Regions from separate parts of the Homo sapiens genome. Here region 1 is linked to region 2. Evidence: promoter capture Hi-C in human tissues and cell types (Jung and others, 2019). All regions are on one chromosome and are shown on one strand. The core of a region is centred on a gene start or on the middle of the fragment in contact, and the rest is flanking DNA. Distances in the headings are between cores, read along the strand shown. Region 1 has its middle 5.0 kb from the start of CLDN8. Region 2 holds the start of KRTAP13-4 (keratin associated protein 13-4).

Region 1 (5,317 bases), core at 848-3,347, 210 kb after region 2:
GGAACGTAGGTCAGAGAAAAAGAAAGATAAGAACAAGAAATAGGAGCTGCATGAACCAGAAAGGTGTGTGAAAATGTGAGACAGCCAGCTTACCTCTGCTGAATGTTTATAGACTCCTGGCATTGCTTTTCATTGATTGTTTGATCTTGTTTAGAAAACATCAAAACCCTGGAAGCTGCTTTTTTTTCAATGGAGTGAAGGGTGGCTGTTCTCACCTGTCTGTGTGGCTACTTGTATGCTTTTTCAAGTTGAAAAGAATAGTTGGTTAACAAGTTTAACCAATGACAGAGTTAATTGACTCAGCAGTTCTTTCTTCCACTAGCCCCTCAGTTTTGTGGATGTAAAATTACAAAGAAAAGAAACTATGCCTCATATTTCTTGGTTTCCAGAGTCTATCACAGGGCCTGGTACATAGTATACTTGTTGAACGGTTGGAAAATAAGTGTTCAGAAGATGTTTTATGAGACATCGTCTTGAAAATTTTACAGAAAGTACAAAATCTCTATAAATATTTGAGATGAGGAGTTGAATAACTTTTAGTTTTACTCATATTCTCATTGAAAAAATTTTAGTGCATCCAGCATATTATTATAGATTGTAATATTTTCTCTTAAAAAAATAACTGAAACCCAAGAATGCCATGAGCTGCTTGTTCCAATAATATTCTCACCCAGTGCCATGTAAAGTTGGTTTTAAGTAAGGCACTTAATGTCTAGCCCTATTAAAATTTGCAAACACTGGTTGCCTAAGGCAGACAGAATCTTAATTTGAATTTTAAGTGGAAAGTTAATTGTTTTGCAAATTAATCAGTAATGTGGCTTAGCTCTATTTGCCCAGTTAATTACTTTTCCCTGTCCTGTTCCCTGTCCTGTTAACTTCAACTTTACAAGGGAAATTGTTTCTTGTGCTCCTATATTCATTGTTTGCTTATAAGGACATTTTGTGTGTGTGTGTATGTGTGTGTGTGTGCACCCTTGTATGTGTTTTCCATTTGTGTGGACTTTTCCCTTATATCTTATGATTTCCCTCATATCTTATGATTTCTCATATTAAACAATGCATGTTGCTGCAGAAAATGGAAACACTTCATTTCTCCTTATAATGCTCAAAATCCTATTGAAAATTCACAATGTGAAGGACATTGTTTCAGAGAACTCCTTCTGATCTACCAAAACTTATATGCTTTATAAGAGATAAAACTACACATTGACACAAGCTTTCAATTAGGTTTACAGGTAGGTCTATAATGACTTGTAGCACATAGTGGGTCAAGAGTGTAGCCTCAGGTGTTTGACAGAATAGAGTTCCCATATTGGCTTTTTTTACCAGTTTGTTGTGAGGATTTGGGTCAGTTATTTAAACTTTGTAAATTCCAGTTTCCTAGTAAAACTGACATAATAAAGGGCTTTTCTAATAAGGGCGTTGGGAGGCTGAAATCATATGGTTAACTAATATGATATCACTTAATCTTAATTGTTCATATAACTTAGTAATTATTAAGTAGTTCTTATGACTAGGATTAAGTAATATTTATTAAAATATATTATTTTAAGCATAGTCATATTAAATATATTATCTATTATCCTATGTGCCTTTTCTCTTCTCTTCCTTTTTATAATTAACATGACTTAAACTTGTGAATTGCTGTGGATTCAAAATAAAATTATGAAAAGTGCTCTGTTTTGGTCCTGTTCATTATCTGATGTTATCATTTTTAGTACTAATTACAGTCTCTGCCTGGCCAGAAACTTTTGTCATGGACCGTTTGTTCTCCTCATTCAATGCTTCATATGCTTTACATTTCAGTAGAAAGGATTATTATGGGAGATTAAGGGATTTTTTTAAAAAATTTGTTTTTCAAGCAATTCCAAAAATAACCATGTGGAAAACAGTTTTATACAACTTAAAAATGTTTTTTTTTTTTTAATTTTAGCGTTTGGAAAAGGTAAAAAGAAAAGTTGTTAGTGAGTCACCTGAAAAAGCAATTTTAATGGACTAATGAAGGTAACCATAGAATCATTCCTCTGTTGGTCACTAAGAAGTCCCTATAAAATACAAAGGAAAGTTTCTCTGTATTATAATTAGCTGAGGGCACAGACACATGTAACTGTTCACTTTCATTGCATTGAAATAGTTTAATGCTTACTTTAGCCAAATACTTGTTCAGTGGTGGTTAGGTCATTCAGTATCACGACCTAGTCTGTAATTAAGGAATCACGAAGATGGGGACAAGCATGGGAAGTGAAGGAAAAAGGGGTGCCACTGGTACCTTCAGCACAGGGAACTCTCTCAAATTCTAAACAAGGAATAATTTTATTGAAATTGCCAATATTTCCCCAGTAGAAACTCCTTTGAATAGAGTATCTAAAGAGGTAGATTTCAAATTTCAGTGAAGCAGGTATGTTTTAAAAATTGCGAAGGTTGGCCATGCAAAATTTTTACAACAATGTGCTAAGCAAGGACGAAAAATGTTTTGAACATATTTTATATCTTAATTAACTCTGACCATATATGCCAATGTAAGAAATTCTGTTTCCCTAGTTCTCTTTAAGGAGATGGTAGGCAATACAGAAAAGAATGTGGGCTTTAGGTCTGCTTCTGAATTCCATTTCTGTAGATTCAACCAGCAAAGTCTGTGTGGCCTTAAAAAAGGCAGTCTCTCTTGAGTTTTAATTTATTCAATTATAAAAGGAGAGTAATGACCCCTGCTTTCTAAAAATGTTTTAAGTATAAAGTAGAGTGATAAAAAGAATGTATTGTATAGAGAACATTTAATACTCAGTAGCTGCTATTACCAGCAAATTCTTTCTTTTTTAAAATTTTTCCTGAAATCATTAGAATTAGGGTATTTCACATCATCAATTCTCCATATATAAATTACTCATTAATTTATAGGAAAATTTCCACAGTATACAGTTTTGCTTTTTTCAGTTATCTCCCTGGATTTCCAGTACTTTAGTAGAGACATCAAATATATCACATGAAATACACAGACCTGTCTTTCAAAATATATCAGAATTCATCCTATACTTAGGTTTTAATTTTTTTAATGCAATGAAAAGCGAAAGAAAGGTAAAAACATGTCCATGACACTATTTCTATTATTGATTTTTTAATTCATGTTCACCATTCTTTTTTCATCTTGGAAAAATGAAATATTGATATGGGTGATATAATATGGGTGAAGTTCTTAAGCACCAGTAGACCCTTCAGAATTATGCAAATTTTATTGCTTGAATTTGTTAGTAGCTAGATGTTACAGACCGGATATTTGTGTACCCACTAAATTCATATGTTGAAATGTTAACCCCCAATGTGATGGGATTTGGAAGTGAGGTCTTTGAGAGTGAAACTTTGAGAGTTGTAGAGGAGGTCATGAAAGTGAAATCTTCATGACGGTATTAGTGTCTTTATAAGAAGAGAATGAGACTGGAGCTCACACTTTCTCCCTGCTATGTGAAGTCATCTCATAAAGACAGCTTTCTATAAACTGAGAAGTGGGTCCTCACCGGAACCCAGTGACACTGGCACCCTGATCTGGGACTTCAGAAGAATGAGAAATAAATTTCCATTGTTCAAGCCACTTGGTCTGTGGTATTTTGTTAAAGCAGCTTGAATTGGCTAAGATACTAGGCAATTTCTATGCAGTAAGGAGTTCATTTTTAAGCAGAGCAACTGAAAATAGATCACACAGAGGTGGTGAAAAGAGCGGTTGGGCATGGTGACTCACACCTGTAATCCCAACACTTTGGGAGGCTGAGGTGGGCAGATCACTTTAGGTCAGGGGTTCGAGACCAGCCTGGCCAACATGGTGAAACCACGCCTCTACTAAAAATACAAAAATTAACCAGCTGTGGTGGTGTGCACCTGTAATCCCAGCTACTCGGGAGGCTGAGGCAGGACAGTCGCCTGAACCTGGAAGGCAGAGGTTTCAGTGAGCTGAGATCAAGCCACTGGACTCTAGCCTGGATGACAGAGTGAGACTCCATCTCAAAAAAAAAAAAAAAAAGAAAAAGAAAAAAGAGAGACATGGTAAAAAGAGAGGGCTGCTAATGGATAGAGAACTGGAAGCATAGCTGGCCATCATGAAAAACAAACAAGATGATGGTTCAAGAGAACATACAGCAATGCACAACAGTATTTTCGGAACAACACAGAGACCTATTGATATGTTCACTTATTCTCTCAGGACAAGATGGTTGGCCAAGTATGGTTAATTAACAGTGGAACATAGTTAAAAATAAACACCCTTGAAAAACTGTCATCACAACAGAAAACTACAAAGCAAATCCAGAAAACAAAAGAAATTGACCTTTGCTTGATAGGCAGAAGCAAAAATTATTTCAAACAGTGATAAGAATTAATAGAAATCCAAGACTGTGGAGTTGAATTAGGTTAAGGATTAATGGGCATAAGACAATCTGATAGTGATTTGTATGTTATCATTTAGGAAGAAAAAGCATTTGCCTGTGTTATGCTATTATCAGGGCTGAATGCAGTTTAGCAAATTTAATTGCTAAACTTAAATCATGCCTTATGATGATGTTGACAGACAGAAAAGCCCGAGGGAGGGTGGAGAGGGGGTTGACATGAGCTCTCATTTCTCTCCTGGGTTCTTGGTAGTACTGTGGTTCTTCATGGAAATGGAAGTACAAACTATTGAATAATCGATGTATTTTGCTCTGTAGTTCTAAATTAGAGTAAAAATGTTATCAATCTGTTATATCTCTATTACTGCTATCTGAATTTTGTAGCCAAGTTAATCAATTCAGCAGGACAGAAAAGTAGATAACAGTTTCCTTTTATCTTTGAATTTAGGCCCCTTTTGTCTTTAGCAAACTCAATATTACCATTTTTTTCTGTCTTTTTATTCCAGTGTCTTTTAGGACATGGTTATTTATAAATACTATGGAGTTAACTGTATCATTGTCTGATAAGGAACCTATTTGGAAACCCTGGGCCACTTCCTAGTAGGGAATTAACTGTACAATAATTCTAATGTGAACCTAGTGTTAATTTCCCACTCAGATCCTCATCTTTTGGCTAGAACAATTTCAATAGTAAAGTACCTAATATTTTTGAAATAAGGAAAATATTTTTATGTAAAATAAGTTCCTGGTAAAATTCAAGCCTCAAGGGAAGAGAGGTTTGGTAATACACAAAGCCAAGAAATATGAATGCGTACCTGGGAAGCAGCTCCCACAACGGCTGAGGCACTCAGAGGCAGAGCTTTCTGCTTCTGTCTCATGCGTTCCTGTGTTGATGTGGATAGTCAGCAATATTTAAACAGAGCTCCTAAGAAACATGCCACACGGGA
Region 2 (5,709 bases), core at 2,171-4,670:
GCATGTACAGAAAATAATTGAACCAATAGTTAATGACATGCCCCTCCAGTAGCAGGAAAAACAAATCACTAGGGATTAAATGAATTCAGTTTTATATTAGAACTGTCAAATGCTTCAAACAGAAAATAAATTAATTCCAATAATGTTTTGATTTCTTCGCCTAGCCCCCCCAAAAGAGTAAAGCTATAAAAAGTTCATAATGTTCTGTTTGATAAAGCTAATGTAAAGTTATTTTAAAAGTTCAACATTGAAGATGAGATTATCTGTTGTATCCATAATGATAAAAAGTACAAATTTTGGTAAGGACATCATGGTAAAGAAAATAAGAGTCCTGTGGAGAAGACGCACATTTTTAATTGTGGTGAATACATAACTCACTTTGTATCCGAATAAGCTGCAATATTCTATCAATAAAAGTAGAAGATATAATTTGAAAAATTTTAAAACACTTTGTATATACTCTAAATTGTACTGGCAATCAATACTTTTCCTTACCTTGTTAATCACCATGTTCACGTTTTTCTACTGTATTATCTTTGAGCTCTTGTTTCATTTATTTTAAGCAATAATTTGTATTGTTTTATACAGAAAAGTAAATGAAAGGAATTTCCTTATGTTTATCAATATTTTTTACACATTGTATGCTGCTTCTGCATTCTATATTATTAGTTTACTCAAGAACATTGCCATGAATTCACTCTGATTGATTCCATCCCCCTTCAGTCCAATCTCACCAAAATGGGAATCTGATTTACGTTATTAGTGAGATGTTGCAAGAGTCTGCAATTTCACCATTCTTGTTCATAATGCTTGGTATTATTGAAGGCAGAACTTTATATCTATCATCTTGGATCCTAAATCTGAAAAAACTAAGTTACACTCATGATAATAATTAAAATGTTAAGATATGTCATAGAACTCAGAATTCATAACATTTTCTTCCTGAGATGCCATTGATTATTTTTCTATTACTCTACTATTTGTTATAACCGTTAAAATGTTATTTAAATAAATTAGTTTACCTTCTTTGGAGCTCTTCTCCTAAACTCTAAATTTATTTGTATTTTCATTCTTTATTACTGATACTACTCATGAGGCTACACAAATAAATCCAATAGTGGATCATCTCCATTTAGATGAATAGTAATTCTGCAGTATTTCTGTACTACTAGAAATACTAAGTGTTCCTTGGTTGAACTAGGAGTTGTATTTTTTAATAAAAAGAAAAGAAAAACCAGAAAAGAGTAACAAAACAAGATTCATTCAAGAGATCATATTCTACCAGGTCTTTGATCTGTAAGCCTTGGCCAGTTTTAAATCCTTTTAGAGTTTCCATTCCCCCATGCCTGTAAAGGTCTATAGTATACAGTATTTGTCTTTCTCACAGGGATGTTAAGTATTAAGGGAAAATCTGTTACCTGATAACTCTTTTGCCTTCTTGTGTGGTATACACTCACCTATGACCACAAGCATAGCAATGCAAACCATTTTATGTTGGCTTCAACCACCTTTGTGTGGACAACATCTGCCCTCAGTCATATGCAACGCCACTTTTACTGTACCTGGGTTTCTTCCAGGTCACAACTAGGAAAACAGAAGGTGCCCACTGTGATTCTTTCCTTGCATAATTATAAGGTTCCTGAAAATTACACATCTTGGATATTGTTCAGCCAATGGGAGAAAGAAGCGGATGGATAAATGTTTTTCCATGTTGATCTGATCCTGTGGGGGACAATTCCAAGAGTCATTCTACATGCTCCTAAAAGGTCCTTACAAGATTTAGCCAAGTTGCTCTCCATAAAATAAACTCGAAAATGCACCCTTTCTTTAGATTTTCCTCTTTGATTCTTTCATCTTCCATAGTGTCTCATACTTGCTTCCTGGGATCTTGTGCCACATAAACTGTTTGCACCCAAATCTTTGACATTAGCCTTGTTCTGGGGAGAAGAGGAGGATCCAGAGTAAGACTAATGGATATAAATGCTTGTTCAGCATGGCTCAGGTGTGTTGCTGTCAGCTTGATTAAGGTTGAGCCTTGAAGAAGCATCGGTAGGTTACCGAAGCCTCCTGGACCCAATAATTCCCACTTAAGATCATTGGTGAATGATCCTGACTCTCCTTACCAGTGGGAGGCAGGAAACCTGGCACTTAAGTCTACTAACAAAGAGCAAAGCGTCTGTCCTAGCAGTGCTTAAGCTTCACTTTTCTCTTGGTTGAAAATCCACATTCAGATACTAGACTTTAAGTAACCTTTAGTGCAAGCATACAGTTTACCTTATAAATTACATCCTAGTCTTGTTGTCTGCATTTCTAGTTTATGCATCAAATTTTCTGCTTTCCTATATCAGTAGAAATGCATGTCCTTCATTCTTAGACAATTCTCACTGCTGTTGAGACAAGTCTGCAGATGCAAACTATGTTCTTCCAGAAATGATTACTCTTAATAGACAACATACCTAATTTCAAGAGAAATGTTCTCAGATCTGTCAGATTATATGGGCCCCAAATCCAGTTACACAGTCATATTGATTTTTACTTAAATCTCCCAAATTCTTGAATGCAAAAATGTAAGCAAAATAATAATAATAAAATAATAACAATGTGAACAATATATTTGGGTACCAGATTACATACATTTATTAGATTAAAATTTCCATTTTCAACAGTTTTTGGATGAAAATCAGATAGCATATATTCGATCAATGGTAAAGATATTAGAAGTTAATATTAGGTTACTCATTAATTTCGCAGTCTGCCAGAAGTTGGTCATGCAAGAAGCTGGTGGTGGAAGAATAAAAAGATATTGGGATCTGGCAAGAATGAAAATAATGGCTGCATTCAGTAGAGACTTTGATCCCAATACTCAAAAGGATCTAGAAATTTAGCAGGTGAATTGATAGAAGCGAGATCCACAGATTGGTCTGTAACAAGAAGACTGCCAGGCTCCAGAAGCCAAGTAGTTTGGGTAGCAGAATCTGGATCCGTAACTCAGGGAAGGAAAACCACAGCCTCCATATTTCAGGAATCTGAAGCCACTGGATCCATTTCCCAGCGAGTAGCAGCACCTAGATCCATAGCCCTGGGAGCGACAGCTGCTGGACCGAAAGCCTAGAGATCCAGAGCAAGTCGTCTGACAGGGACAGCAGAGGATGGAGGTCCTGGGGCGGTAGCAGGATTTCTGGCAGCTGGCGGGCTCCCAGCAGGTCTTCTGACAGTCCCTGTAGAGAGAGGAACGCAGCTGGCAGGTGCTGGGAGAGCAGAGGGCAGTGCTGTAGACCAGGCTGCTGGGGTAGGAGCCTGGGTAGTACAGGTAGCCCCCAAAGGAGCGGGAGGAGAAGTTTCTAGAGCAGCAGTTGTAGGACATGCTGATGAGAGATGGGAGTTCAGCTGAGTGTACCTAAGAAGATTCTGAGTTTTAATGTCGCATCCTGGACAAGGGCATTTATATCCTCTCAGCAATAGGTGTGGTGCCCAACAGGGTCATCCTTTACATATTTGTGATCCCTCATTTACATATGTGTAACTGCGTAATCTTGTCTGTAATTGCATTTGAATAGTTTTCCATGTATTGTATTTATGGGTGCTATAATTTTCGTGTTATAGCACAAAGCCAATGAACTGTACTTATGTCAGAAATGCTATGACTGTTTTATATTAATGTCTAGCTCATCATGACAAGGAAAGCTCTTCCTATTTCTTTGGCACATGCTAACTGCCTCTTTTCCTGTGTATTCACATCTGGCTTTGCTAGTAGATGTTTTCCTCTTAAGAGTGGGGAATGAGATAACGTTAGTTTCTTTCTGGTGCAATTTCCACCTGGATGAGAACCTTTGTGAAAATGATCCATCTTGTCACCATTGATTGCTATACTCCAAAATTACTTTGTGGTGATTTTTTAGGGCGGTAAGAGTAAATTAATACATTAAGTACTACAGTTATAAAGTCTGTCTCATATCCAGTGAAGAAAGATCAAGAACAGGCAAAGCAAAGAGATAGAAAGAAATGGCTAGAAATTGAAAGAAACCTTGCCATTTATTTAAAGACGAGATAACAAAAAGAAGCTCGATTGAAACACAGTCACAGAGAAGATCAATTTGAGGTCATGTCTCTTCAGCCAAAGAGCCCGAATGCTTGTCTGCTGAAGGGAGGAAACAAGTGAAAGAGAAACAAAGAGAAAGCTCAGGAATTTCAGAATTTTTTTTCCTATTGCATTCCAGCTGTCATGTGTCTTGTCTCAATGTCTTTATGAGCAAAAATTTTCAAAATTAGCAAATCTTATGAACTTTGATATATTTATCATCTACTTTTGTAATTATACAGGACTTCTACCTTCTTAGAATGGCTCTAGCTTTCCATATTACTGGCTTTCAGTGTCTTTTTGCCACTTGTAGAACCAGGTACCATCCTACATTTTCCTGTGAAAATGTGAAGTTTCTTTGTTCCCCAGTCCTCTTTTCCTCTGCATGGTATATGAATGTTTCTCTCTTATTTTCTCTCTCTCTTCCTCTGACTTTCTTTCCCTCTATTTTTCTTTCTTTTTTCTGTGCTTAAGTTTGATTTTATCTTTTTTCTTTTTTTTACTTGTTATATTTTATGTTTTGTTCATGTGTTTGTTTGCCTCTGCTGAATTATAGATTCCATGTTGAAAAATAAAAATTGGACAGCTTTGTCGTATTCTTTGAGGATAGCCACTTTGTAAGTTCATTCACAAAATATTCTATGTTGAAATACAAGTAGTTAAATTATATTCAGGACCAAAGAAAGTGTACTGTCATGGTTGATGACATTTTATTTTATAATAAAATATAATAAACTTACAACAATAATGTTAGACATTTTCTCGATTAAATTTTCTCAATTAAAATGTATGGCAATATTGAAAAGTAACTTAATATAGGCCTTCCAGAAGGAAGAATGAAGAAAGAAGCAAATATGGCCAATTCAAATATCTATTCAGTGAGTTACTTTCTATTTTTCAATGGCAGTTGATTTCCCCTAACCTTGTACCTTAGTAAGTAGGTTTGGAAACTATTCCTTCCCCATTTTCTTTTGTTTCAAATGTAACTCTTTAAAATAATCTTGAATACAAAACTTATGAGTTAAATGGAGAGCATGAATTTATTCAGGCAAAACTAAGGGATTTAGTGAATTTGTCTTCAGTTAATCCAGGCTCCTTATTCAAAAATCCTTCTCTGAACCAGTTATTGTGAAAAGAGGTGTTCTTCCCTTCTCTCTGCCTCTAAATCTCTAAAACTTTGTCCACATTAATTTGATAGAAGTTTAAGAAGAACTTGTAAATGCCACAACTTTGGACTCACTTCATCTTGGAGATCATATTATTTGTTCTGTTTAATATGGAGCCTCATCATTGTTGTTTCTTTTTTTGACTGAATTATTTATCAACAATTAAAAATTGAGATCTTTCACATAAAATATATGGCTCAGGGATATACATCAAAAGGCTTCTGATCTTTTGACAGATGATTCTCTTCACTGGGCTATGAATAATGGCTTTGGATATTTGAGATATGTTTTCAACAGAATCTCATCCATAGTTGAAAATTACAACGTTTGGCACCTACCTGCTTCTCTTTTCAAAATAACCAGGCAACTTGTCACTAACATGCTGGAAAATCTTGCTTTCACTAACCATCCAGGTTACAACCTCAATAAGCAAAAGCCAATACTTCTATATAAAGATTGAAAATA

The links. The method cuts DNA at HindIII sites, captures the fragments that hold promoters and counts their contacts. A contact is called where the count stands out against the background at its distance.
Region 1: a fragment that was not itself captured here is called in contact with the fragment with the promoter of KRTAP13-4 in region 2 in 2 of the 25 tissues and cell types used here (stomach and thymus).

The regions. Positions count from the first base shown.
Region 1 is chr21:30,218,390-30,223,706 of GRCh38, reverse strand. No RefSeq gene overlaps it. Among named protein-coding and RNA genes, the nearest start is that of CLDN8, 5.0 kb to the right of the region's middle. The HindIII fragment of the contact is 8,230 bases long and covers 1-5,317 here.
Region 2 is chr21:30,427,931-30,433,639 of GRCh38, reverse strand. It overlaps KRTAP13-4 (keratin associated protein 13-4), which reads right to left and starts at 3,420. Exons shown (of 1, transcript NM_181600.3): 1 at 2,614-3,420. The coding sequence starts at 3,364. The coding sequence ends at 2,882. The region is part of intron 3 of LOC105372772 (a long non-coding RNA gene); the gene reads left to right. The HindIII fragment of the contact is 9,351 bases long and covers 1-5,709 here.